Linked DNA regions of Homo sapiens: regions 1, 2, 4 and 5 are each linked to region 3. The links are contacts of gene promoters, found by promoter capture Hi-C in blood cells and fetal thymus (Javierre and others, 2016). All regions are on one chromosome and are shown on one strand. The core of a region is centred on a gene start or on the middle of the fragment in contact, and the rest is flanking DNA. Distances in the headings are between cores, read along the strand shown. Region 1 overlaps GMCL1 (germ cell-less 1, spermatogenesis associated). Region 2 holds the start of FAM136A (family with sequence similarity 136 member A). Region 3 holds the start of PCBP1-AS1 (PCBP1 antisense RNA 1). Region 4 overlaps MXD1 (MAX dimerization protein 1). Region 5 overlaps MXD1 (MAX dimerization protein 1).

Region 1 (5,406 bases), core at 807-3,306, 250 kb before region 3:
TTGTGTAGCCTGCATTTCTTTCTCGCTTATTTTAGGAACTATTTAATACATCCTCAAGTATTTTCCAAGGAAGGGTGCAAAAGGGGGTAATTTGTGCGTATCTAAATATAAATTTAGTCTCTTTTACTTTATTCATCCTCTGACTGGGTATGGAAATCTAAAGTAACTTTCTTCATATCTTTGATGACGCTGCTTCATTGTCTTCAGGCCTACAGTCTTGATGAAAAATTTGATTCTGGTGTAATTCTCTTTTCAGGTGACCATTTTTGCTCTCTGGAACTTGTGGAACTTTTTCTTTGGTATTTTGGGATTTAATTAGAATGTGCTTAAGTGTGGGTCTTTTAATGGCCTTGGTACTTGTTGGATCCTTATAATCTGGAGACTCATATACTACCTTAGTTTTGGGAAATTTTTTTCCATTAATTTCTTCCATAATTTCCTTTCGCTTCTTATCTTTATTTTTTCTTTCTGGGATGCCTCTTAACTGGATTTTGGATTTCTTGGATTATGCCTGTCTCTTCTTTTTTCCTTTCTTTGTCTTTTTGCTTTATGTTCTGGGAAATTTCCTTTAACTTTTTCATCACTATCATTAGGTTGTTTGGCCCTAACTATGAGGTATTTCTTTTGGACCAGGGGTGAAAATTACTAAAATATGAAATGTGCTGTGATCCATGAAAGCTTGGGAACCTCTGCTCTACAAAGCATGCCCCACCTATAACCAACTTCGTAGTCTTCTTACTCAAAGAAGAGGTACCTTGGAAATAGATCTATTTACTCAATTAAAACACCATACATCAGTTATTCATTCTTAAATATAAGTGGACAAGCAAGGAAGGATCACCCAACATGAGGAAGAAAAACAAACAAACTATTCTTTGGTTTATTTGTTTTTTTAAATTTCAGTAATCATGTCTTTAGTCTCTAAAAGCTCTTTCTTGTTCTGAGTGATCCTTTATCATAGCAGTCTATGGGGTAAATATAATAATCTCAGATCTCTAGGTATACTGGTGAGAGGGTGTTTTTTTCCTCTCTTTTCCCTGAATTATATGTTTCCAGGGGTGGAGGGAGTCTCTCTGTCTCTCTGATATGCTCTTATTCTTCCTCATGGTGGGTGATCCTTCCTTGCTTGTCCACTTATATTTAAGAAGGAGTAACTGGTGTATGGTGTTTTAATTGAGGAAATAGATCTATTTCCAATGTACCTCTTCTTTGAGTAAGAAGACTACGAAGTTGGTTATAGGTGGGGCATGCTTTGTAGAGCAGAGGTTCCCAAGCTTTCATGGATCACAGCACATTTCATATTTTAGTAATTTTCACCCCTGGTCCAAAAGAAATACCTCATAGTTAGGGCCAAACAACCTAATGATAGCAGATTGCATGGTATCTGAAAGATGTTACTGTGTTTCCTTCGAATTTAAAATACTCCACATGCCTCTCTGAGTTGGCTGTGGTGCTCTAAGTTCAGATGGTATCCTGAACTGGTGAATTTCACACACGGTTTGGGAACCATGACTTAGGGTGAATGGATTGGGAGTGAACAGGCCACAGATTCTTTAAATTTCAGAATGAGGATTGCTTTGTCTGGGCACCAGCAGCTACACTACAGCCTTAGATCTTCCATTAGCTTTGTGCTATTTCTAGAAAAACCTTGGAATCTTTTTGCCTCAGTATCTGTACTCTCCTTATCTATACTCTGTGTTCATAGAGTGGAGAAGGCACTAGTTTCCCCATTTTCTGCCCCTCTTCTTACTTCTGCCTTTGTTTCCCTGAGACCTCATCCTTCTTTTCTCCCAAGGGTTCTGATGGGCAGATAAGCTTAGCCTCCATCCTAGTCCTCCATAATGTATTTTTTGGCTGTGGCTGTCACTGTTCTTTTTCATTTGAATTTGTTTTCTAACTTTCAGATCTGTATAAATCTCTCATCAAGTGATGAGCCTACCCTCACCTTTTCCTGGTGTGGACTTATTCCTTTTTTGTACTCTTAATCTTTAATGTAATTTGGGGAGGGATGGGAAGCCAACATGTGTACATTCTGCCGTCAGGAACTGGAAACTACATTGTCTCTTGATTTCGCATCATAACGAGTGAAGTGGATACTATTAATGTCCTCTTTTTACAGCTGTGATAACTGAGCAGCTGGGACTCAAACCCAAGTCTGTTACCACTAAGACATGTGCTGTTTTTATTGTCGGCTAGGAAGAGGTGTTAAGTACACAGGTGTTAAATTCGCCAATTCAGGATGTCATCTGAAACAATTACTTCATTTTTAAAAAGAGATTGAAGGTTTTATGTGCTAGGAAAGCTTTCAGAATTGGTCAGGAATTTAAGATATTGATCAGCCTCTGCCTAAGGCCTTTTCTTAGTTACTGGATCATTTTGAGCAATGATTTTCAAACTTTATTTTTTTAGTCAAGTCTTCCTTTAAATTAAATCTGTGCAGAAATCCAGTATGTTTACAGATAGAATAGGTGATGCTGCTCTGGTTGAAGTTAGATGGGATGCTCACAGTTCACTCCTTAGCTCTCCTTGGTGGCCCCTAAGACTTCTCCTTTGAGCAGTTTTAAAAACCTTTCATCTAAAATAAATAAATAAATAATTTTAAAAAACAAATAGGAAAAGAAAAGAAAACCTTTGATCTAAGGTTGCAAACCGTTTGTCCAGTGGCTGGAAAACATTTTAAGTAGTTTAAGAATAGGTTGGTACCAAAATAAGATTAAATGTAAATTATTTTAAAATTACTTGGGTAGGTGAAATGTTTACTCTTGTTCTCCATTTCCTACTTGCAGATTATTGCGCTATTTGAGCTCCTTCATAGTGCTGGTTTCTAAATAAGGAAATAAGCAAAAAATCAACATGCTAACTTCTTAATCTATTGAATGGGTAATTAAATTAGTCCAAAATTGCTAAAACATGTGTAGTGAAAAGTCTGCCTCCCATGCTGCCCCCCTTTCTCCACTATCTCTCCCGTGCATAGAGGACCCCAGAGATAACCACTATTATTAGTTTCTTATGTACTCTTCTAGACACAAGAAAATTTGAATATATACTATCTCCCTATCCTTTTACACAATAGGTAAGTTGACTCTATTTAATAGAAATTGAATAAAAGGAGTATTTAGAAATATATGCAAAATCAGTAAAACATTCAGTTTTATATAAATATGTGACTTTTTCATTTCTTTTAACAGGAAAAAATTAAAGAGTACATCTAAATATATTTATCAAACATTATTTTTGAATGGTGAAAACAGTGACATTAAGATTTGTGCTCTAGGAGAAGAATGGAGCTTACACAAAATATATTTATGTCAAGTAAGTATTTTTTCTATTTGAGTAACAGGGTAGTCACTGAAACTCTTAAGTCATGTTCTTCCTCATTGCACTTCACAGTAATCTTTTGCATGAACACCATAGTGGTTAAATCCTCTCATTTGATCAGTCTGTAAGAAAAATGGCAAACATTGTTAGTGAAAACTAAGTTTGGTCTAGAAAGAGATTTTGATATTTCAGTATCAGACTAGCCTAATACTACGTATTTGTCATTACTTCATAAAATGCTTTTTTCGGTGCCTTCTGTTGATAAAAGGGGAAAAGTTGGGGAAAAAATATTTAACATTAAAGTTAAGATTGTAGTGTTTATTTTGCTTATGGTTATTTAAATTGGATAAACTCATCTGAAATGTTGCTTTGTAGTTCACATTGAGTGTGAATAGAAAGTTCTCTCCTGAAAAATGCAGGTAAAGACAACACCAAAAAGTATATAGACTAAGTAGATTTCTGTACTGAAAATATTACTACCTGCCACCCCACTTTAAAAATTCAGAACTTTCATAGCTGACGTGGTGTTGGGCACCTGTAATCCCAGCTACTCAGGAGGCTGAGGCAGGAGAATTGCTTGAACCTGGGAGATGGAGGTTGCAGTGAGCTGAGATCGTACCACTGCATTCCAGCCTGGGCAACAGAGCGAGACTCTGTCTCAAAAAAAAAAAAAAAAAAAAAAAAAAAATCGGAGCTTTCAAAATAGAATACAATGTTGCTCTAATGGCCCAAATATTTTATTCATTTTCTTTCATCAAATCTATAAGCTAGGTATTGTTTGAGGCACTAGAAATAAAACAACAGTTTTTATCCTTTGGAACTTACATTTTTCCTCTTTACCATTTGAGAATAATTACTGGTAAGACAGCATAGTATAAAATTTTTCAGTAAAAGTATTTGAAAATGAATTGCCTTCTCTAACATTTTAATCATGTTTTAAAATGTGTTTTTGAAACAAATTTATTTTGGCTTGAAGTATGTTGCCCAGATACTATATCAGAATATTGCTTTTAACTTCAGGGTATGATTCATGTTGTTTCTTTTTAATATCTGAAAGCAGTTTTGTGAACTTGAGGGTAAGAATACCTCTGTTAAAACTTTACCCCTCGTGGAAGATGTATTATAATTCAAGCCACATGCTAAAATATAAGCCCCCTGAGGACAGAAACAATATCGATTTTGTTTATTGCTATATTCACAGTGCCTTCTACATACTAAGTACTCAGTAACATTTTTAAATAAATTAGTTAATATTTGATCCATTTCAAAGTAATTCTAATTATGAGGAGTGCTATCTGGCAGATACCTAAAGACTTCATTCTGTACCTTTCCAAGAATTCAGGTCCATTCTGGACATTTCTCATTAAACTAAATTTTGGATTTTCCCTGGTTTCTTTGGCGATCATCCTGTTTTTGCTGACTTGGGACTGGTTTGGTCCTTTATAGCCATTCAGGTGTACAGTAAAGATTCAACAGTTTGAGTAAAAAGCTAACCAGGTTCAAATAATATACATGAATTCAATTTAGATAGTAATATAAGAATTTTAGTTTTTTGTCAAAAATAGTACTAAACCAAAAGTATATTTTGATACACCTAATAGTGTCCTTATCTTAATTTCTTTTCTCCTGTGGACATATTTGGCAGTTCTTTTTCTGTTGAAGTAATAGAATGGATGAGTTTAGTTAATGGATAGAATAGTTGCTTAGAATTAGAAATGGGCAAATAATTTGGAAGACACAGAAAGTACTTGATAATCGTTGACTTTTTTTTTTGTTTAAGTCTGGCTACTTTTCTAGTATGTTCAGTGGTTCTTGGAAAGAATCCAGCATGAATATTATTGAACTGGAGATTCCTGACCAGAACATTGATGTAGAAGGTAACTACCACAATAATTACTATTATGCAACAATCGTAAAAACATAATCTTATTCTTCTGGTAGAAGATAAATAATTCCTTCCAGCCTTGTAGTCTAGAAAACTCCTTTTATCACCTCAAGGTGATAATTTGATGTTGATTTACACCATAGTTTATCAGTTCTGTCCATCTTATCACTAATCTGTTTTGTCATTTGGGCCTTATCAGTTTG
Region 2 (5,857 bases), core at 855-3,354, 220 kb after region 3:
GCGATCTTGGCTCACTGCAACCTGCGCCTTCCAGTTTCAAGCGATTCTCCTGCCTCAGCCTCCCGAGTAGCTGGGATTACAGGCACCTGCCACCATGCCCAGATAATTTCTGTATTTTTAGTAGAGATGGGGTTTCACCATGTTGGCCAGGACGGTCTCAAACTCCTGACCTCGTGATCCACCCGCCTCGGCCTCCCAAAATGTTGGGATTACAGGCGCGAGCTACGCGTCCAGCCAGGAAACTTTATACTACACAGTATACATTCTGTATTTGGTGGTTATGTCAAAAGGAACAAACAAACGCCTCCTCCCCAACAAACTGCATAAGGGCTCTTGGTCATGAACTCCCCTGGTAACTCCCCATTACATCATTTCTTTTTTTTTGAGACAGAGTCTCGCTCTGTTGCCAGGCTGAAGTGCAGTGGCGCGATCTTGGCTCACTGCAACTACACCTCCTGGGTTCAAGAGATTCCCCTGCCTCAGCCTCCCTAGTATCTGGGACTACAGGTGCGTGCCACCACGCCTGGCTAATTTTTTGTATTTTAGTAGAGACGGGGTTTCACCATGTTGGCCAGGATGGTCTTGATCTCCTGCTCTCATGATCCACCTGCCTCAGCCTCCTAAAGTGCTGGGATTACAGGCATGAGCCTCCGCGCTCGGCCTACATCATTTCTATAGGAAATGATGTTCAACTTAAGGCACTCGACCGCCAAGACTTTTTCCAAAATTTCAAACCCTGTGAAAACTGGTTGGCCATCAGTATCACAACTGTTAACAGAACCAAGACACTAAAGCCAAGAGTTTTGAACAAATGCTTGTCATCTCCTGCAAAAGTCTGTATCAAGGACTACAGTGCTCTGTCTAGGATATTTCTCACCTGGAACTTCTCCAGCTCACTGGTGACCAAAGCCTGGGCTTGAGCCAGAGGCACATGGCAGCGCTCGATGCACTGGTGCACCTGCTTCATGGAGGCCTGGCTGTCCTCACAACAGCTGGCGCTGCACCGGAACATGAGACCCTGGGGAGAAAGGGCAGAGAGGTTAGGTAGGAAAGTCTCTGGGGACAGAGATGACTATGGAGCACTACAGGAGTTAGAAGGCCACGTGGATATTTGCACCTCTCTCTCCACCTTCTGCTTTCACCTTCCCTGAGAATAGACACCAGGACCTTAAAACCACCACTGGGGAAAATTATCCTCAATGTCTAGTGTAGTGTTTCATGGTGTCCTTGCTGCTAGCTCATCGGCACCTGTTGCACCGATGGTTGGGTGAACAGAGGTTCGCCCGAGTGGGTGAGGGTAGGGTGGTCTGACGAAGCCAAATTCTGAAAACCAGGAGCCTCTTCCATGGGGTTCAGAGGTCAGCAACCTAGCAATACAAATTCCACCAGAGGGCAGCCGACCCACTAATCAATGACTCAAGGGGCACTATCTGGGAAACGCATACTCCGTGAGAGAAGCAGGACCGAAACACACAGAGGCATTGCGGGGCTCAGAGAAGAACAGTGTAGAAACCCGCGCTGTGTGAAGCGAGGTTGGGCGCAAGAGAAGCAGGCATGACCTGGCCAACGGGGAGGCCGGAAGTCCTCGCCTTTCTGGTCTTTCACGTTGGCAGCGCCTCTGCTGGGCCTCGGGCCGCTCACCTGCGGAAGGGGCCGCGTAAGAGGGGAAGGTGGTGGGGCGAGCGCCTGCCACCAGGGGCTTCCCACCTGCCGCCGAGGACGCTCCTGCCCCGGGCTGGAAGGGGCGGAAAACAGCCTCGCGCACGGCAAGGGCACACGGATTTCATCCGATCCGCCAAAGCTTCCGAAGTCCTGTCCGAGGCCGCCCCGGCGACCCCAGGGCCGCCCACACCCGGTCTGCGGGGACGCGGCTGCAGTGCAAGGCGTCGCGTGGTGGCTGAGGGAAGGGCCCGGAACCCACCCGCTGAGAAGGGGGTCCTGGTTCGGCCCCAGCCCCGCTACCTGCATCTTCCGGATGTTCTCTCTTTCCAGACTCTTCACCATGGACTCCACCGCCTCCTGCACCCGGAGCTGCTGCAGCTCAGCCATGGCGACCCCGCGCTGCCCCGCGGCGCTCCGCGCCGGCGCCCATATGGAATCGGCGTACGGGCCCGCCCCCTCACCGCCCTTCGCCGCCCTTCGCCGCCTGCCCTTCCAGGGCCCACGCCCCCCCCTGGCGGCCGAACGGAGCCACTGCATGCTGGTGTCCGCGAGCCCACCGCCCTCCTCCCGCTTGGGAACCGGTCACTGGGACACCTGCCCTGCGGCTGCTGCCTGCCTTTCCTCCTCCCTCCCATGTCCCTCCCTTTACATTCTTTAAAATTATTTAATGTAATTTACATACAGATAAATGCCCAGATCTTAGGCGTGCTGCTTGATGAGTTTTAACAAACCCTGTCCGCCGGGCGCAGTGGCTTACGCCTGTAATCCCAGCACTTTGGGAGGCCGTGGGCAGGTGGATGACCTGAGCTCAGGAATTTGAGACCAGCCTGGCCAACCTGGCGAAACCCCGTCCCTACTAAAAATACAAAAATTAGCCGGGTGTGGTGGCACATGCCTGTAGTCCCAGCTATTTGGGAGGCTGAGGCAGGAGAATTGCTTGAACCCGGGAGGGAGAGGTTGCAGTGAGCCGAAATCACGCCATTGCACTCCAGCCTGGACGACAGAGTGAGACTCTGTCTCTAAACAACAATAAAAACCCAAACTCTGTCTTGTCCCAATCTCCGTCCTTTCTACCCCATCTCCCCACCCCTGCCCTAACTGGTCTGCTTCTGTCACTGTAGATTACATTTTCTCTTTCTAGAATGTCATATGTATGTTATTATCCAATAAGTACTCCTTTTCTGTCTGGCTTTTTTAGCATATTGCTGAAAAATACTTAGCCTAATGCTTTCGAGATTGAGCTGTGTTGTTGGTTCTTTTTTGCTGCTGAGTAGTATTCTATTGAATGGACATACCACATTTGTCGTTGTTGTTTTTTGAGACAGGGTCTTACTCTGTCACCCAGGCTGGAGTGCAGTGATGTGGTCTCGGCTCATGCAGCCTCCACCTCCCTGGTTCAAGTGATTCTCATGCCTCAGCCTCCCGAGTAGCTGGGATTACAGGCATGTGCCACCACGTCTGGCTAATTTTTTTTTTTTTTTTGTAGACACGGGGTTTCACCATGTTAGCCAAGCTGGTCTCCAACTCCTGAGCTCAAGGGATCCACACACCTCGGCCTCCCAAAGTGCTGAGATTGCAGGCATGAGGCATCGGTCCCGGCCCACATTTGTTGATCCATTCCCCTGCTGATGGGTGTTTGGGTCTTTTCCACTTAGTAGCTATTATGAATAAAGTGGTGACTATGAACATCCTTGACCATTTTTTTTTTCTTTTGGAGATGGGATCTTGCTATGTTGTCCAGGCTGGTCTCAAACTCCAGGCCTCAAGCTATCCTCCTGCCTCTGCCTATCAAAGGGATTACGGGTATGCACCACCACCCAGTCCTGGACCAAGTCTTTTGTAGACACAGATTTTCTTTTCTTTTGGGTAAATATCTAGAAATGGGATTGTTGGATCACAGGGTAGATGTATGTTTATGCATTTATTTCTCATAAAAAATGAACTTCAGAGACAAAGCAGGGGCTACAGATCATCAATGAAGCAGTCATCAATGAAGCACTTACATGCCAGCAACATGAAACTGTTTCTGAATTCCTGGAGCAGTTTTTTTTTTGGAATGCCTCACTGTCCCACCCATAACAGTACTGTCGTGTGCATTCATTTATCGAATACATTAGCTAGGGGTGCGGGTCCAGAGGGGAGTGTCAGTGGAGAAGGGAAACACACTCCGTGGAGAAGGGGAAGGGGCAGTGTTGGAAGAGGTGTGCTGGAGGAGGTGGTCCAGGCTGGCAAGGAGGGAGTGAGCCATCCGGGTTCCTCAGGAAAGTTTTCTTAGAGGAGATAAGGCTTGAATTGAGGCTTTGAATTGAATTGAAATGAGTGGGTGTTTGCTTGGCATATGGGGCTGAAGAGAAAGCCATGTCAGGCATGGGGGTGCAAGGTGGGGGTGGGGGAGGAACAAAGGAATGGGGCCGTCATTAGAATTTAACGATTTTCTGCCATTGGGCGCTAGATGGCAGGAGAACTCTAGTTTAGGGCAGTGGGGAGTTTGACTCAACCCAAGCTTCTTTGAAGAAAGCTATGTTTTGATTGGGCACGGTGGCTCACGCCTGTAATCCCAGCACTTTGGGGAGCTGAGGCAGGTGGATCACCTGAGGTCAGGAGTTCAGGAGTTTGAGACCAGCCTGGCCAACATGGTGAAACCCCATCTCTACTAAAAGCACAAAAATTAGCCGGGCGTGGTGGCAGGCACTTGTAGTCTTGGCTACTTTGGGAGGCTGAGACAGGAGAATCGCTTGAATCCGGGAGGTAGAGGTTGCAGCGAGCTGAGATCACGTCACTGCACTCCAGCTTGGGCAACAAAGTGAGACTCTGTCTCAAAAAAAATAAAATAAAAAATAAAAGCAAGCAAGCAAGCAAGCAAGCAAGCAAGCAAGCAACCAAACAAGCTGTGTTCTTCCAGCGCCAGGCCCTCTCTAGTGAGTACAAGTGTGAGTATCTCCCCATAAATCACAGTTCAGGGTCTTGAGACAGCCTGTTCACTTCAAGCTCGACTACAAGTGGCTCCCAGCAGCAGCTGGAATCAGGGCGACACCAACTATTAAATAATGTGCCAGACAGTGTTTTAAGTGCCTTCCACGGGATGATCTCATTTAATTTCCATGACAAAGCACCCTATGAGGTGGGTACTTTACTCTCCTCTCTTCTCTCACTCAGGGCAGAAAACTGAGGCCTAGGGAGATGAAACCACTTGCCAGAGATTGCACATTTATAAACTGGTGGAGCTGGAATTCCAATCCTGATGGGCTAACTCCAGACTAGAAAAAGTAGGAAATCTCTATTGTGACTGACTTAATGTTTATACTTATGTCCCATATTCCACAGAAAGTTCTTTCTTTCTTCTTTATAGCACAATCTGAAACTACTCACTTCTCCCTCTTATTCCTAAAATGCCAGACAGAACCTCTCCAACAGCTCCTACTTGTAGGAGCCAAGTTAATCATGCTAAAATGAGTTTAAAAGTCCTTGAGTAATGCAGCCTTGTTAGTTTCTATACACAAATTGAATGGTACTTTTAGTATTTACGAAAAATGATTCTTGGCTGGGGCGGTGGCTCACATCTGTAATTCCAGCACATTGGGAGGCCGAGGCGGGCAGATCACTTGGGGCTGGGAGCTTGAGACCAGCCTGGCCAACGTGGTGAAACCCCCATCTCTACTAAAAATATAAAAACATTAGCTGGGCATAGCGGCACACACCTGCAATCACAGCTACTCAGAGGCTGAGGTGGGAGAATCACTTGCACTCAGGAGGTGGAGGTTGCAGTGAGCTGAGATGGTGCCACTGCACTCCAGCATGGGTGACAGAGCGAGACTCTCCCTCAAAAAAAAAAAACAAAAAAACAAAAAAACAGAAAAAAAAAAACCCAGAAAAAAAAAAAAGAAAAATGATTCCTGACTTCCAGTTAGTTGGCTGTGGAAATCCCATGGGAGTCATGGTGGAAGCAGAGTTTAATCTCATGTTAGGAAGCTCAGATACCTGTCTGTGCTATTACCCTGGTGCTTTGAGGGTGGGAAATGAGGTTTCAGGATTATCTGGCTCAAGCCTGGGCTGACTCACTGGAAACAAGTCACAGCTCTTTCAGGATCCTGGGTAGTCAGTTCTGTCATCTTGATTCCTTTCCCACCTCTCCTGCATGCCATCCTGTGAACGCAGGCCCCGCAGTGCCAGAGACAAATGGTGGCACAAGAGGGAC
Region 3 (5,842 bases), core at 1,384-3,883:
ACTCTCTGCAGAGACCACATCCAGTTTAGTGGTTAAGAATGGAGTCTCTGGACTCAGATTGCCTAAATTCAAATCCTTGCTTTACCACTTAATAGCTGTGTGACCTTGGATAAATTCCTTCACTAATCTGTACCTCTGTAAAACTGACCTAATATCACCACCCATTTCAGGAGGTTTTGTGAGGATTAAATGTGTATAAGCGGTCACAACTTATTAATGGGTTTTTAATCACTTTATAATGTGTCCTTTTTATATATAAAGAATAGAAATTACCCAAGTACATATACTGCATGTAGTAACAAATATTGTTTTGCAAAAATTTTGTTACATATGTGTGCATAAATGTCTTAAATCATAATGTAAAATTTGTTTCTTAGTGGTTTTTTTAAAAATGTGAGACACTGAATACATAAAATAAGGCTTAGAACAATGCCCAGCACACAGTAAGCACCTAGTGCTGTAACTGTCATCGTTGCTGTTATGTACCTATTAAATGTTCGTAGAGTTATATAAACTAACATGAAACCACTTTGGAAAATATATCTGATAGTAACATAAGTTAAAGGCAAAAAGCCCTTCTCTTTGTCTCTCATATCCACACACAATCAGAGCCCTGCTCAGGCACCAGTTTGTTGCTTGGCCCACTAGCTACGTGTTGCATTGAACTGAAGAGTCCACAGACTGACCTAACACTCTGTCATGCTCTGTCAATCTCTGCAGAGAAATGGAGGCTTGGTGCCAGAGCGAATTTATTTTTACCTGGTTGGGGTGCTGGGGTGGGGGAGGCAAGAGTCAAGCCCATGGGGAGCTGACGGAAGCAAGTCAGTCATACAAAAAACCATTTGCTCCCCCAGAGGCAGGTAGGCTCAAATGTGCCACAGACAGGGCCAGACCGACAGACACCTGAGCCTCTGGGCAGGCTGAATCACTTCCCCCTCCCTATCCTCACCAGACACTGCATAAGACAGCATTTCAGCCCGCCCGCCCGTTACAGGTGTAGCTCTTATCAGGAAAAGCTGGGAGCTGCCTGATACAAAAAGGGGCTGACTGCACAACAAAAGATTACCTGAAGGGCTCATTTAAATGACAAGCTCACCTAAACGTTTTAAATAGTATTTAAATTCCAAAACCCTGATTTACAGAAAAACCTGGAAAATGTGCTCACCAGTAAGGAAATCTGGAGGTCCATCCCCGACATTGTGTGACCTTGAATTAAGCACTTCATCTTTATGTTTGTCTTCCTCTGTTTAAAAGAGAGAGAGAGAGAGAGAGATAAGAACACCTACCTCAGAGGACCATGGTAAAAATTAAAGATAGAATACGGTGAACTGCCTTGCATCGGATGTGCTGGCACTGGCCAATGCACAATAAACGCCTGTCCCTTCTAGACTAAAAATGAACACTTAATTGTGGTAAACTATTAATAAGATTCACCGGCCAACTGTCCTATGAAAAAGTCAGAGGCACTGTAGTCTCTTCGTAGCTCTCGTTCTCTCCAGCACAACAGCCCATGCTAGGAAGTCTAGAAAAGCAGTAACTTATCTCATTCCTTAAATTAAACAGAGGTTTCTAAATGCTTTGGTACTGTGGGGACCCAAATTATCCCTTGATACTGCCCCCCTATTATCCACTATTAAGCTTTAAAAAGGCGAGAGATTAAATATTGTGCCCACATTTTACAGTCATTCGCGTTCCCGTTTCAAATTAAAGGGAGGAAAACGCGTTAAAATTAGGCCTCCGACCTTCAGACCAGCCTGTGGGCTTTTTTAAGTCATAAAACTCGCGGAGGTGGAAGGCCCCGGGGAGGAAGAGGGGTGCATTCTAGAGCTTTCGGGCCGACCCCAATTTCTCGTTGGCGACGAATGCTAACCACGTGTCGCCATTTTGTGTTCAGGAAACATGGCGGCCGCCCCAAGGGTAAGGAACAGGGGAGGCGGAGTAGCGCCACGTTAGCCGCTTTCCCTGAGAGATTGTGAAGCACGTTGCGCACGGGGCCCTTTCTGGTCTGGCTTAGCCCAAGGAGGAAGGGGAAAAGGCAGAAATCACAACTCATAGGCCAGCGTCTTGAGCGACACTTCCTCAGCGGGAAGAACCGGCAAAAAAGGCCTTCCAAGATGGCGGGCCCTGACGGGGCCGCCCCCCTTGAGCCTGGCGCAGTGGCTGCGCCCATGGGCCCGAAAAGCAGCCGCGGGAGCCCAGGCCGCGCGGGGAAAGCCGCAGAAACGTCCTGAAGCCCTGGCCGGCAGCCCCTGAACAAACGAGGCCTCCACAGGCGTACACTATTGTTTCTAATGTCGGAAAAGGGTGCCGCGGTGGAAACGACACAAGGGCAGGAGGTGGGGTTTCTGTGGCTTTAACCGAAAGAAACTTGCGAAACGCAAACAAAGCATTATGTAAATGGACGCCATTCTTTTTAGGACCACGTTTCTAGCACGCCCCACAAACAGCAGAGCCGCGATTCGGCAGGCGGCCGTGAGTGGGTTTCGGTCTTTCTGCCCACCGGCCGCCGCCGGGGAGCAGGAGCTGGGGTGGGGGATCCATGCAGGGCGCCCGGACGCCGGGGACGAAAGGGCCCCACGTGCCCGCCCGCGCGCACCCGCTCCGCAGGCCTCGCCTCGCCGCCCCTCCCCCCCGGAAGAGGGCTGCTGCCCCTCCCATCCCCCCACACCCTCGCGCACGCGCTCTGGTCACCTCACGCGCATGTTTTAAACCCGCGGCGTCCCGGCTTGTGCCTGCAGTTTCCGCCGGGGCTGCCCATGTCGTTCCGCGCACGAGCCCCTCATGTAGGGCAGGAAAATAATGTCTATCCCGCATACACAGCACTAGTATTTTCAGTCACCCGCCAGTGCCGTTAGAGTTAATAAAATACGTCATCATTTTAAAACTTTGCCGGACTCACAGCTTCCGCCCATCGTGCGCTTCATTTTCACTACTGCAGTGTCAGAAGGTTTTTTTTTTAAGGACCATGTAAGGGTTGGCGCAATCTTGTGACCTAAAAAAGACGGGTCCTCATTTTTTTTCAAGGGGTCCTGCGCAGCAAGCACTTCCGGGGTCAGAGGGTACGCGGGGTTGAAAGCGGGCTTCCCGCCCCGCCCAGACCGCCGAGGCTGCCGCCGGAGTCGCCACCGCCGCGCCCTCGCCCACCCGCCCGCCCGCCGCTCCCGGCCCCGCTCGCCCCCTCCGCCGCCGCCGCCCGCCCCTGCGACTACGCTGCGGCCTCCCGCCCGCTCCCGCTCGCTCCCGCGGCCCTCGCTCGCCTCGCGCCGGCAGTTTTGGGCCTACACCTCCCCTCCCCCCGCCAGCCGCCAAAGACTTGACCACGTAACGAGCCCAACTCCCCCGAACGCCGCCCGCCGCTCGCCATGGATGCCGGTGTGACTGAAAGTGGACTAAATGTGACTCTCACCATTCGGCTTCTTATGCACGGAAAGGAAGTAGGAAGCATCATTGGGAAGAAAGGGGAGTCGGTTAAGAGGATCCGCGAGGAGAGTGGCGCGCGGATCAACATCTCGGAGGGGAATTGTCCGGAGAGAATCATCACTCTGACCGGCCCCACCAATGCCATCTTTAAGGCTTTCGCTATGATCATCGACAAGCTGGAGGAAGATATCAACAGCTCCATGACCAACAGTACCGCGGCCAGCAGGCCCCCGGTCACCCTGAGGCTGGTGGTGCCGGCCACCCAGTGCGGCTCCCTGATTGGGAAAGGCGGGTGTAAGATCAAAGAGATCCGCGAGAGTACGGGGGCGCAGGTCCAGGTGGCGGGGGATATGCTGCCCAACTCCACCGAGCGGGCCATCACCATCGCTGGCGTGCCGCAGTCTGTCACCGAGTGTGTCAAGCAGATTTGCCTGGTCATGCTGGAGACGCTCTCCCAGTCTCCGCAAGGGAGAGTCATGACCATTCCGTACCAGCCCATGCCGGCCAGCTCCCCAGTCATCTGCGCGGGCGGCCAAGATCGGTGCAGCGACGCTGCGGGCTACCCCCATGCCACCCATGACCTGGAGGGACCACCTCTAGATGCCTACTCGATTCAAGGACAACACACCATTTCTCCGCTCGATCTGGCCAAGCTGAACCAGGTGGCAAGACAACAGTCTCACTTTGCCATGATGCACGGCGGGACCGGATTCGCCGGAATTGACTCCAGCTCTCCAGAGGTGAAAGGCTATTGGGCAAGTTTGGATGCATCTACTCAAACCACCCATGAACTCACCATTCCAAATAACTTAATTGGCTGCATAATCGGGCGCCAAGGCGCCAACATTAATGAGATCCGCCAGATGTCCGGGGCCCAGATCAAAATTGCCAACCCAGTGGAAGGCTCCTCTGGTAGGCAGGTTACTATCACTGGCTCTGCTGCCAGTATTAGTCTGGCCCAGTATCTAATCAATGCCAGGCTTTCCTCTGAGAAGGGCATGGGGTGCAGCTAGAACAGTGTAGGTTCCCTCAATAACCCCTTTCTGCTGTTCTCCCATGATCCAACTGTGTAATTTCTGGTCAGTGATTCCAGGTTTTAAATAATTTGTAAGTGTTCAGTTTCTACACAACTTTATCATCCGCTAAGAATTTAAAAATCACATTCTCTGTTCAGCTGTTAATGCTGGGATCCATATTTAGTTTTATAAGCTTTTCCCTGTTTTTAGTTTTGTTTTGGGTTTTTTGGCTCATGAATTTTATTTCTGTTTGTCGATAAGAAATGTAAGAGTGGAATGTTAATAAATTTCAGTTTAGTTCTGTAATGTCAAGAATTTAAGAATTAAAAAACGGATTGGTTAAAAAATGCTTCATATTTGAAAAAGCTGGGAATTGCTGTCTTAAACTCTTTGTTGGTGCCTTTTTTTTCCCTCCCCTTTTAGCCTGAGGTGTTTGGAGGGAGGAGGGAGAAGGGTGGGCCCGTCCTTGGTATTCTCTCAAGCTCTTCTCACCTTATCGGTAAGATTCCATTCCCTCTGTGCCCCAACAAAGGAACATGGCAGGCTGGGCCTGCTTTGGGATGTTTCCAGGGACAGAGAGGTTCAAGTTCCAGAGAGAGGCCTCTGCCCATTTCTCTGGTAGAAACAAGGTTTTCTCGAGGGGAAAAGGTGTGCCCACTCAGTAGGACCTCTAAATGGCAGAGCGTCCTCTCCATCTAACCAGTTCCCCCACCCCCACCTCACAGGATAAACTTAGGAACAAAAAAATATTCTGGGGTGGGAGGAGCCTGGGGAAGGGGTGTGGGGGCAGGGAAAGGAAAGGAAGGGAGGGCAGTGGGCCGGGGAGGATTGGGGGCTTGGAGGAGGGCAACAGCTGCCGGGTGGTGGTGGGACTAGAGGGGTCTTGGTTGGGCAGCAGGGGTGGGAAGGGGGGAGGGGACGGTACCAACGAGACGCACGTGTCAAGCATGCACCTGTGGCAAGCAGCCTGTCAGAGGATGTTATTACACCTGCCAAGTGGTGTATCCAGAAACAAAAGAGGCCCAGTTTCCAATTCTTCAGCTGTGTGCAATGTTTAGAGAATCCCTATACCAGGAAATAATCCTGCCTAAATGGGTCAGTCTTCACAAGGCGGGAATGTAGACTGATGCACTGACTATAACCTAAGAATGATCTGAGTGTTAAAGATGCAGATTCCTCTGTCCCACCCCAAAACTAATCAGCTGTATTTTTAACAAACACCCCAAAGGAGTCTTAGATTTGAATGCCACTGATTGTCTTCAGTGGAGGAGGAAGATCCCGCTGTGAAGGCCGTAGCACCCTCACGCCCACGTCAGCCAATAGGACTATCCCTGACCTGATGAGAGAAGGAAAACTGCTAGGCAAAGGCAACATTAGAAACAATAGTATGAGAAAATAGAGCCTGA
Region 4 (5,811 bases), core at 1,552-4,051, 170 kb before region 3:
GGGATTCAGAATTTTGCATAAGTATATAACTCTATTTATTAGTTTATATATTTTCAAAGAATCCAGAAATATTTTGGTAAGAATTTCCTGTGTGCTGTTATTTTCTACTCTCTTCTCAACCTATTCACTTTCCTCTCCTCCACCTACAAGGGGTGGTCCTTGTCTACAGTTAAAGAGGGTAATCTCAACCAACTGTTGGCATATACTTTCATCCATTTTATTTTATTTATTTATTTATTTTTAGACAGTCTCGCTCTGTTGCCTAAGCTAGAATGCAGTGGCACCATCTCGACTTACTACAACCTCTACCTCCTGGGTTCAAGTGATTCTCCTGCCTCAGCCTCCCGAGTAGCTGGGATTACAGGCGTATGTGACCATGCCTGGCTAATTTTTGTATTTTTAGTAAAGACGGGGTTTCGCCAGGTTAGCCAGGCTGGTCTCGAACTCCTGACCTCAAGTGATCCACCCACCTCAGCCTCCCAAAGTGCTGGGATCCCACTATGCCCATCTACTTTCATCCATTTAAAAAAATCTGTCAGGCTTTGAACTTACTAGTCCCGGTTAAAGTTAAAATGCCACGTGCTTTAGAGCCAAAGGTTTGCAGTATATGCCAGATTCTTGTTAACTATAGTATCCTGTTGGCCATTGAAGGCAATAAACCTTCAGAACAATGTGACTGGAGAATGCTGAGGGATAACCAAGTGAATCAGTGTAAAGCTTTTATTTCTTTTTAATTGAGATGGGCTCTTGCTGTGTTGCCCACACTGGTCTCCAACTCCTGAGCTCAAGCAATTCTCCTGCCTCAGCCTCCCAAAGTGCTGAGATTACAGGTCTGAGCCACCATGCCTGACCATTTTAAAGTTTTGTTTTGTTTTGTTTTGTTTTGTTTTGTTTTGTTTTGTTTTTGAGATGGAGTCTCCCTCTGTCGCTAGGCTGGAGTGCAGTGGCACGATCTCAGCTCACTGCAACCTCCAACTCCCTCGTTCAAGGGAGTAGCTGGGATTACAGGCACGCGCCACCACGCCCGGCTAATTTTTGTATTTTAGTAGAGACAGGGTTTCACCATGTTGGCCAGGATGGTCTCAATTTCCTGACCTCATGATCCGCCTGCCTCGGCCTCCCAAAGTGTTGGGCTTACAGATGTGAACCACTGCGCCTAGCCTGAAACTTTTAAGTTAACCAATTTTGGATTGGTTTGAATACATGAGGTCCATATATTGTTTACCTAGAAAACAAATATTCTAAACTTAAAATACTGTCATTTTCTCATTTATTTTTTCTTCGTGAATAAAAATTGATTCCTAAGATCCCTGTGAAAGAGAAGTTTAATGCTAGGTTGGAAATTTCTCATTTCAAGACAACCTCCTCACTTCCGCTGCCATCCCCCCACATTCACTCTCCTTACCCCCATTCTCTGATGAGTGAACTTGATGTTGGTGCCCCTGATGTAAATGAGTGGCTGAGCACTCTTGAGGTGGTATTCCTCCATGATTGCTGTGAGAATTTATTTCCTAAGCCCAGTAAGGTGCTGATTATGGCCCCACAGAATTCATGAGCTGAACCAGGGAGTAAACTCCTGAGCTGGTTAAATTCTAGAGAATTTTCATAGAAAGGTCAAGCAAGATTCAGCTCCTTTATAATACTGGTAGCTTCTTCCAAATTTATAACTGGTTAGGAAGGGGTTGTGTGAGGAGGACACTAAAGGGGCCACATTGACTTCTTATGACTTTATGGTAACTTGTCCATAAAGTCTTAGGCCAGACCTTGTCTTTAAGGTCAGCCATAAATACACTAATCATATGGTTTCATATCCATCACACCTTTCATCCAAGGCTCTCTAATCAGTTTTACAGCTGTTACCTCATTGGTCCATACTTGTTCAGTAAATAATTCGTAATTATTTTTATTCTCATTTTATAGACAGGTTAACCAGTAACAGGATGGTAAAGAATTTTATTCATTCCACAGTATATCAGTGGCAAAGCTGGACTTCACATTTCACTAACTTCTGCTTTAAGCAACCTATCATCTTTATATTGAGCTGAACTTTGGAAACCCCTTCCTAAAATCATTTGGTTGCTATTTAACAGTAGCATCTTGTACATGATAGTTACTTCAGGGAGTCAGAAGTTTGGGGAAGGGGGTTATTTTACTATTTAAAACAATATAGTCAAGCAACTTTACACAAAATTTTGGTGTATGCTACCCCTAGGGAAAACTGCAGGGGTGGGGTAGGGGTGCTACCTCCCCTGTTCTACCCTTAGCCTACAGAAAGCTTTGTCGTATTATATAACGCAAATTCACATTGCATCGTGCAGCTGTTTTTGTATAAATAGACCCCTTTTATTTCTTGTCTTAAAATGGATTATTTTTCCACTAGAGAAGGCATGCTTCTTGGTTTGTCGCTTTACCTTGAACTCTATTTTAGGATTTACATTTATCTAACTCTTCAAATGGACTAATTTTTTTAGTAGAGCCCAGTGAATTTTTCTGCCTTTCTACATCTCTCCTATCAACTTTGGAGAGAAAGAAGTTAAAAGAATTGTGTTGGTGTTGAAGTAGTTCTTTAAGACAAAAATATCTTATTCTTCTCTTATTGTTCCCTCTTTCAGATCAACTCACAATGAAATGGAGAAGAATAGGTGAGTTGGGGATTTGGGAGGTGGAATGCGGGGAGCTTTGTTGCATTCTCTGTTCATGCAGTTCAAACTTGGTTGCTCTTTTTGACTCTTCCCACTAGTAGCACCTGATTTCAGAATTCACCCAGCGCCCTCTAAGCAGCATCGCTCATAAATTACTTAGGTAGATGTAGAGCTTGCCAGTTAAAAGACCACACCCCTAACCCTCACCCGCACCAGCCCACTCCTGAAGAAGGCCTTTGAATGACTATTCCACAGACCAAAGCATTTTAGTCAGAGGCAACATTTCCACAAATAGTGTTTTTAAAAAAATTACATGCTACTGAATATCATTGGCAGTGTTATCTAAAATACATATACACAGATATATATACACATAATATACATGTAAGTATATATTAACACATGTGTATTAACGTGTATGTATGTGTATTTGCAGTTTACTTGTGAATGAAGAGTCTCAAAATTCAGGCAAATGTATGCATGGCAGAAATTGGAGATGGTGCCTAACTAGAGGAGGACTGCCACCCTCACTGGGCTCCATCTTGCCGCAGCCTGAGTGGAATCTCTCTCACCTGGATTGCCTCTTGCTGCTTACTTAAATCTTTATTTTCCAAATCAAGTTGCCCCTCCTTCAGTGAGGCAGCCGAGTGGTTTTCAACTCTGGTTGCACATTAGAATCACTTGCAAAGCTTTCTGTGTATTTTTAAACATATTTTTATATTAAATACATTATACACATACACTTGTATATTTTTCTGGTGAGGGTAGAGAACAAAGGTTTATTTCTGCTGATTCTATAAAATAACTTTTTATTATAGAAAATTTCAAATCTGGCCAGGTACAGTGGCTCATACCTGTAATCCCAGCACTTTGGGAGGCCAAAGTGGGTGGATCACCTGAGGTCAGGAGTTCGAGACCAGCCTGGCCAACATGGCAAAACCCTGTTTCAACTAATAATACAAAAATTAGCCAGGTGTGGTGGCACGTGCCTGTAATCCCAGCTACTTGGGAGGCTGAGGCAGGAGAATCGCTTGAACCCTAGAGGCGGAGGTTGCGGTGAGCCGAGATCCCGCCACTGCACTCCGGCTTGGGCAACAGAGTGAGACTCCGTCTCAAAAAAAAAAAAAAAAAGTAGAGTGACTAATGTAATCAACTCCTATGTATCCATTACCCAGCTTCAGTAATTATCAACATTTTGCCAGTCTTCTGTAAGCAAAACCACCTATTCCCATGAAGTATTTTAAAGCAAATTTTCTTGTATCTCTAGTAAACACCAAAAAAAAAAAAAAACACACAAAACACCCAAAACAACAACAAAAAAAAAACCACTTGCTTTTACCATACTGAAAAAAATTAATGATAACTTTTTGTGGAGCTTTTAAAAGCCAACAAACAAACAAACAAAATAATGCCCAGACCTTACCCTTAGCAATTCTGATTTAATTGGTTTGGGTTGAGGCTCTGCACTCGTATGTTTCAAAAGCTCCCCAGGTGATTCTCATGTGCAGCCATGGCGGAGAACCATTGAACTAGCCTCATTCTGGTCTCTGAGCTCCCATCAATTTGAAATGCGGGCTACCCATCCAAATTGAGTGCTTTCTCAGTGCCCTGCATGAACAAGAAAAGGATGTGTAATGATGGCTCTATAAAGACATGTGGTTATTTCCTGCCAACCCTCTTTGAAAAAGGAGCCTGACTCTGAAAGTCAGGATCTGAATGATATTTATGTTTAATCAGTGAAAGGGCAGACTAAACCCTTCCCAGGCAGGTAGAATCTGGGAAGAGGGCGGTTAGCTTTACTCCACTATGGAATTTCGTGTGTGTGTGTGTGTGTGTGATGCTGAGTGTGCCTCACTGCATATATGCTTCTGCTCATCCCATCGTCTTCCCTTTTAATTGTTCTATGATTGTGACTGACCATGTTTTAAGTTGGAGCTTCCTTTATGCTTTAGCTATTTACATATCATGAACTAGAAACTCAAAAGTATCTCTTCTTAAAGGGGAAAGGTAGTCAGTTGTGGCTTCTCTTTCTCATTTTTAGATTTTCTCTTCAGATTCTCTCCCTTCTTCCTGCCTTTGCAGTGATGTGGGTAAACCGGGACTATTTCTGCTGAAAAGTCTTCTAGTTCTTCGCCCCTCTAATACTTTAGTTTGGTATTTATTTTTATTATTATTAAAATTTGATCGCTTCACATAAAGACTTACTAAAACTTTGTGACTTTTGCCTCTGCAGGAATGCCACAGAATGTCAATTGTATTATTTATTATAGCACCTCAGGGATGTTTATTTTCTGTCTATGGTGGCCCCAGAACTTGTACATGTTACTGGGTATTAAATGCGTTCATAGTAGGGTATTAAATCAGCAAGGTCCCCATCCCAGAAAAATGTGCAGTTTGTCCAATGGGAAAGATGCAGAGACAGTTTCAGTTAATATACTAAGTGCTAAGATTGGGATGTGCACAAGAAGCTAGAGGTAAAAATTCTGGAAAACTGAACGTGAAGTCACCACTAGGCAAGCTGCCTGTAATTGAGCTTGCTTGTATATGACCAATCAACCTTTGCTTGTTGAAGGATTAGTTATCTAGTTTCCTTCTTTTCTTTTTTGGAATTTGGTCTTTTAAGGTCTTGATAATCTTTCTAGTCTAGAGCATGTGAACAGAACAGAAGGAAAATCAGGACTCAGTTTACTTAATTTAAGCAAGCATTGGTTGCTGCAGTTCAGGGGAGGTTAAAGTTGCTGGGCTCCACTCTCTTATTAGCATGGATGCTTAAGAACTTCAGGGTTTGGAGGTCAGCTGAACAGCTGTTTTTGTACTCTCCCTGGTTTTAGTAGCTGAGTTCTATAAAAGAATACCACTCGGGTAAATGCTAATATACTTTAGCCATTTTTTACCTGATAACATTGCATAAAAAGATTATCATGGCTTTCATTGCTTCTTGGCCTTTTGGCTAAAATCAAGTGTAAAAAGATTGCCATGGCTCTCAAAAAAAAAAGGAAGAAGAAGAAAAGACAACTTAGGAAAAGAACTTCTAACAGTGGGATTTTCCCTTTTCTTGATATTGCAGAGTTGATTATACTTGGGTTAGTTTTCTTGAATGGAAACCTTTTCTATGGCACTTTAGAGATTGTAAATAATTAGTGTTACTCTATGTTATCAGGACTCCACT
Region 5 (5,616 bases), core at 1,647-4,146, 150 kb before region 3:
GTTGGACAAATTAGAATCAGGACATCAAAAGGGACTATTATTTCCTGCTAACAAACAGAAGTTAATTGAGATTTGGCATGACACAAAAAAGTGCTTATGTAATTGGGACATGTACTTGAATAAACATAGTTTTAAATGGAAGCGTGTTTCTTAAGCTCCCATCAAGTGCAGTTTTCTAGTCCGGAGATCAGGTGTTCAGGGGATTGCTGCAAACAAGGGAGATCAGGTTGGGGACTGCTGCCTGCAGTCTTTCTGATACTAAAACTGAGGGCTACCAGGGTGCCAGTATGTGAGAGCTCACCCCCAGAATCCCTGTGACAGGACAAGTACCCCCAGCACTGGCGATGCTGAAGAGTCAGACGAAGCCAGGAGTCACTGGCCAGTCGACTTCCTGTCTCAGGGAGAAGCTTGATGAGTGGCACCGAAAGGCGTCTGAGGAAGTGTGGCGCATTCCACTGCTAGAAGGGAAGATGCGGGGGCCATTGCCCATTTAGAGATCTCCCTGTGGGGCCCAACAACTACCCCTTTGACTTGCAGAAACTTGAAGATTGTGACAGAAAAGCCGTTCACCAAATCGACCAGCTTCAGCGAGAGCAGCGACACCTGAAGAGGCAGCTGGAGAAGCTGGGCATTGAGAGGATCCGGATGGACAGCATCGGCTCCACCGTCTCCTCGGAGCGCTCCGACTCCGACAGGGGTGAGCCTCTCTCACTCTCCTCCCTGTCTCCCTTGTGCTCCCCAACCCCAGAGCAGGGGTTCAGTACTGCGGACAGGAGGCAGAGTGTAAGAAGAACTAAGACACTGGGTATGATGTAGAGAAGTCGAACAGTGTGACCTCCAGTGACAGGTTCCTTCTCCCTGCTAACACTTAGGTGACAACCCCAGAAGAGTTTGATTGGTGTCAGTTTTCAGCCTAGTTTGTTTTGTTTTGTTTTGAGACGGAATCTTGCTCTGTCACCCAGGCTGGAGTGCAGTGGTGTGATCTTGGCTCACTGCAACCTCCGCCTCCCGGGTTCAAGCGATTCCCCTGCCTAAGCCTCCCAAGCAGCTGGGATTACAGGCACACACCACAATGCCTGGCAAATTTTCCTATTTTTGTAGAGATGAGGTTTCACCATATTGGCCAGGCTGGTCTCGAACTCCTGACCTCAAGTAATTCACCCACCTTGGCCTCCCAAAGTGCTGGGATTACAGGCGTGAGCCACCACACCCAGCCAAATTTTTGTATTAGTAGAAACAGGGTTTCACTGTGTTGGCCCAGCTGGTCTCAAACTCCTAACCTCAAGTGATCCACCCGCCTTTGCCTCCCAAAGTGCTGGGATTACAAGCATGAGCCACCACGCCTGAGCTTTCTGCAGAGCGCTTTCATCAATGTCCTTCTCTCTTGTCCTCCCTGCAGAAGAAATCGACGTTGACGTGGAGAGCACGGACTATCTCACAGGTGATCTGGACTGGAGCAGCAGCAGTGTGAGCGACTCTGACGAGCGGGGCAGCATGCAGAGCCTCGGCAGTGATGAGGGCTATTCCAGCACCAGCATCAAGAGAATAAAGCTGCAGGACAGTCACAAGGCGTGTCTTGGTCTCTAAGAGAGTGGGCACTGCGGCTGTCTCCTTGAAGGTTCTCCCTGTTGGTTCTGATTAGGTAACGTATTGGACCTGCCCACAACTCCCTTGCACGTAAACTTCAGTGTCCCACCTTGACCAAAATCAGCTTTGTAACTGTTTTCAAGGAGGTGCTTAGGATTGTGGGTTTCTGATTGCATCCACTAGCTTCTCTTTTTCTCGCCATAAAAATTTGTCTCTGAGAGACTATACATTCCAATCAATTTGAAGCATCCAAGAATTCTTAGACCGAATAAGCAATGTCCACATCTCAGCAATCCCCCTCTTTGCTCTCCTCGTGTCCTCTCCCAGACCTTTCTTCCAGTTTTCTGGCTTACTGTGTTACTTGCCTAGGAGGAATGTCCAAGTGTGTCTTGTACTTAGGAAACTGAAGGAAACAAACTTTTGAAATTGAGATCCTGATCTCAGAACTCCAAAGTAAGCTTTGAAAGCAGCATTTAAGAGCACTTAACCATGGACCTCACCACCAGTGAGGAAGTCAGGAATACCTCTAGAAAACACGCCCTTCACACCGCGCATGCTCATTCCCCCGACGCGCCGCGTGTGGATGGGAGCAGTATTTCTCACTTTAAAATGGACACCTTGATAGTGTGTCTCTGGGGTTGCACAGCTCATCAAAGTTCCAAATTGTTTGTTCTCACAAACAAAACGGTACAATCTATTTTTGTGCGATGTTCTTGGGACCTCGCTGTGTTCTGCTATCTCGAGGCACATTCTCCCCTCCAACTTTGTTAATGCTACTTGTCTCTGGAACATTTTTTTTTCCTACCTCAGAGATAAATGAGATCTCCATTTCCCACTTAACACAGTGATTATCCTTTTTTCCCCCCCCAAAATAGTGACATTTGGTCCAATTATAATCTATTTTCCTATTGAACTTTCAGCAATAACTGAGCTGTGGCACTAGCAGAGCTAGTAGCCATTATCAGTGAAAGAAAAAGTCCACATTTCTACTCTCTGTTGCAGGTGAACAGGAGAGGATGGTACACTGTTACTAGAACTCCTCTCCTTATTGATTATTTTTGGACACACCCAGAAACTTCTTTATGGAGGCTTTTGGGTTGATAGTTTAAAAGGCTGATTTTTCTTTTTGGTTATGATTTCTCCCTTAAGTGGTCTCCGACTTTGTAGCATTTTTATTTAAGCTAAAACAGAGCACATGTATATGTACATAAGACACATTAAATCTATAAATACTATTTATTCATTTTATATAAACTAATGTAATGGAAAACAAATTCTTATGACTTTGTGGTTTTATAGATGTTCTAGAAACTTTGTATGTAGGTATCTACAAAATTAGTTCATTCCCCTGAATATTTTTGCATTCATATTTTTGAGGTCTTGATGTTTTCAGCCTCTGGCGAATCTTTTTCATTGAATTTGAACCATTTGTAAAATCTGTGATGCTGAAGCAGAGTGTGTCACAAAGTGATGAGAACATTACTAAAATCCACGGACGCACTGCGACCTAAGGGCTCAACGGCTGACTCGGCAGCGGGCAGCCACCCCACGCTCCCCTGCGGTCACTCGCACACCACAGCCTGAAGCTCCCCCAGCGCCTGCACCTCGCACACAGCTAAGGTCAAAGTTCAAACGCACTCCACACGGAAGCTCATTCTATACCCGAAGAGCAGTCTCAGAAAGCAAGATTACTTTTGTGTTTTTTAAAAAATGATTCTTTAATGTATTTTTCTAAACATTCTGATTGGAAGTAGTGGATTCCTAAATGATTCCAAAGTCACCTGTAATTCTTCTGTTTTTGTTTTGTTCTGTCTTTTCTTCATTTTGGCTTTGGGTGGGGGGAGGGGCAGGTGACACAAAGGATTTTTTTTTTTTTTTTTTAATTTTTGGAATCTTTTCCAATAACCAGCTAAAGATTTGCACTGAAATACAACTTGTATGCCTTTTGCATTTTTAAAGCCTGCTTCCTGGATTTAAGCAGAGTGATAGTGTTCAAAGAGCCAGTTCAGCCTGTAACATATTTGAAAAAGATATGTCTGCACTTTGAGGTCCCTTTTGAATGCCATTCACTAGACCTCTCAAGCATTTTGTTTCATTGCTACATCCAAGCGCCTCACAAGTCCACAATGCGGGACAGCATCAAAAGCTCAAGACTTTGGAAAAAGCTTGTGGGCTTGCACTGGGGGAGGGAAGGGAACAAAATTTGTGTACTTCTTTGTTTAATTTAGAAATAAGGCATCCAAGAGATGCCATTATTTTCTGTGTTTCAATTGTTGTGCCTTTGAGTTAAACTGCATTTTTGTCTTTTGGTTGAAATCTGAAATGTACTGTCCCAATATAAAACAGTAATTATTTGACCTTTGCACTGTTTGTCTGGTCCTTTTCAGTTTGATTGCATATAAATGTGGAACTTGATAGATCTCTATATTTTTAATGCACTTGTGATAAACTGGCAGCAGGGTTAGACATTACTTTCAAAGCTTGAGGTAGACCGAGTCAGCATGCTAGACAGGCTTCTCTCTCTAACCAAAACTGTAATCTTCAGGACCAGCAAACTCAGCCCAAGGCAGCTAATCCCCCCAACCCCATCCTCCGCGCCCCGTGCGGCTGATCGGCAGCCCTGATTCGCCAATTTGTCCTCTCTCATTCACTGATCCACCAGCCTGACTGCTAAGAGCTATAGTCTTTTTAGTTGTTTTGTCTTTTTAAGCAAGATGAAAACCTTTCTATTAGGGATTTTGGGGTTGGGAGGGGATGGGCAGAGATATAAACCCCAGCCTTTAAGACTTTGACAATTGTACGTAAATACAGATGTGTATAAATATAGGCACATGCATATTTTTATGTGAAAGTTGATTTTAAAAAACTAAAAAAATCTAAACTGCACTCTTATTGATACCATCATAACGCAAGTGGGAAAAATAAGAGTACGCAGTCTAATTTAATTTCATGCAGTGGGAAAATATATATGTGTGCTTCTGTAACATCCTGAAAACATAGCTTTCCATCCCCTGTTGGCTTTGAATGGTGGGCCGAGCACCCAGGTCGTCTGTATTTTGGTTTTCTTTTGCTAAGCAGAGATCTTGAATTCTTCAAGGTGCTGATAGCAACTGCTGGCTCCTTTCTGTAGTCACACACCTAATGCTAGTTTAGTGATTCAAAATGCATCACATTTTTAGGCAGGACCTAGATTTTCCCTGTCAACCTAAGATGAAAATAATTTCAGTGTTGATTCAGAACTGAACATTAAGTAGGCCCTCGTCCTGCAGTTGGCCACTTGAGTGTTTTGTTTTGTTTTTATTTTTTAAGGTGGGCATTTTCCTTTAACCTCTACTTTTTCAAAAGCAACAAAGGGGCCTCAACCTGAGTTTCCTATGGGCCTCTCTTCTGCATCCCCAAAGCGGCCAAGAGCAAATCCTGGGGGATAAGAAAAAAGTGTAAACTAGGTAGGATTGTGATGCTCAAAATAACCATCTAGCAATATCTTGGAGCTTGAGAATAGATTTTGTGGGCTTATTTCTTCTTGCCTCTTCCCCATCCTTTCAAGAGAGAACTTATTTTTGAAAAGTATCTATATATACACACACACACACACACACACATATTATTATTTAGGTTTTTATACCATACTGTATTGGCGAGAATACCACTATCATTGTCCTTTACAGTCTATTTCTTCCCCCAAGTCTTGGTCTTTTTTTATTTTCTATTTTTTCATGAACCACACAGGAGACTTTAACATCCTGGTCTTTTCTGTTTCTTCTTTGTTTCCCCAAGTTTGTCTGTCCCCCTTTGCCTTCCCTGAGTGTTGAACATCAGGTAGTAAAAGGCTAAACGCAATTTCTTGCATGTCAATCTATTCTTTTTCTATGTTTGACTCTGATGCAGTGTGTTTAGCGTGTCTAGTAGCTGGCTACTCCTATTTAAAAACTCTTCCTGGTAGAAGACAACCCAAAGACCCTTTTCGATGAGGTGGTTTCTCATTCTACATCCTCTGATCTCTATAGACTGTAGGATGCTTTGCTTTCA

The links. The method cuts DNA at HindIII sites, captures the fragments that hold promoters and counts their contacts. A CHiCAGO score of 5 or more calls a contact.
Region 1: a contact is called between a fragment that was not itself captured here and the fragment with the promoter of PCBP1-AS1 in region 3, in 1 of 17 cell types (fetal thymus). The highest score is 5.1, in fetal thymus.
Region 2: the fragment with the promoter of FAM136A here is called in contact with the fragment with the promoter of PCBP1-AS1 in region 3 in 1 of 17 cell types (fetal thymus); the score reaches 6.8 in fetal thymus.
Region 4: a contact is called between a fragment that was not itself captured here and the fragment with the promoter of PCBP1-AS1 in region 3, in 17 of 17 cell types (monocytes, fetal thymus, total CD8 T cells and 14 more). The highest score is 17.8, in monocytes.
Region 5: a fragment that was not itself captured here is called in contact with the fragment with the promoter of PCBP1-AS1 in region 3 in 3 of 17 cell types (neutrophils, monocytes and fetal thymus); the score reaches 9.0 in neutrophils.

Annotation. Positions count from the first base shown.
Region 1 is chr2:69,834,359-69,839,764 of GRCh38, forward strand. It overlaps GMCL1 (germ cell-less 1, spermatogenesis associated), which reads left to right. Exons shown (of 14, transcript NM_178439.5): 2 at 3,189-3,312; 3 at 5,099-5,195. Among named protein-coding and RNA genes, the nearest start is that of GMCL1, 7.4 kb to the left of the region's middle. The HindIII fragment of the contact is 487 bases long and covers 1,814-2,300 here.
Region 2 is chr2:70,299,963-70,305,819 of GRCh38, forward strand. It overlaps FAM136A (family with sequence similarity 136 member A), which reads right to left and starts at 2,105. Exons shown (of 3, transcript NM_001329752.2): 1 at 1,642-2,105; 2 at 878-1,018. The coding sequence starts at 2,049. RefSeq lists enhancers at 441-1,390, 1,391-2,339 and silencers at 2,025-2,294, 4,098-4,227. The HindIII fragment of the contact is 2,364 bases long and covers 1,800-4,163 here.
Region 3 is chr2:70,084,382-70,090,223 of GRCh38, forward strand. PCBP1-AS1 (PCBP1 antisense RNA 1) reads right to left here and starts at 2,634. Exons shown (of 11, transcript NR_033872.1): 1 at 2,597-2,634; 2 at 1,166-1,243. It overlaps PCBP1 (poly(rC) binding protein 1), which reads left to right and starts at 3,096. Exons shown (of 1, transcript NM_006196.4): 1 at 3,096-4,822. The coding sequence starts at 3,363. The coding sequence ends at 4,433. It also overlaps a transcript of ASPRV1 not described here. RefSeq lists enhancers at 1,693-1,832, 1,973-2,062, 2,103-2,312, 3,518-4,162, 4,234-4,400 and silencers at 2,523-2,672, 3,123-3,182, 5,209-5,258, 5,349-5,438. The HindIII fragment of the contact is 2,991 bases long and covers 1,637-4,627 here.
Region 4 is chr2:69,919,124-69,924,934 of GRCh38, forward strand. MXD1 (MAX dimerization protein 1) reads left to right here. Exons shown (of 6, transcript NM_002357.4): 3 at 2,613-2,642. Among named protein-coding and RNA genes, the nearest start is that of MXD1, 6.9 kb to the left of the region's middle. The HindIII fragment of the contact is 1,056 bases long and covers 2,274-3,329 here.
Region 5 is chr2:69,936,698-69,942,313 of GRCh38, forward strand. It overlaps MXD1 (MAX dimerization protein 1), which reads left to right. Exons shown (of 6, transcript NM_002357.4): 5 at 538-697; 6 at 1,400-5,616. The coding sequence ends at 1,587. It also overlaps a transcript of ASPRV1 not described here. Among named protein-coding and RNA genes, the nearest start is that of ASPRV1, 22 kb to the right of the region's middle. RefSeq lists an enhancer at 612-1,147. The HindIII fragment of the contact is 1,707 bases long and covers 2,044-3,750 here.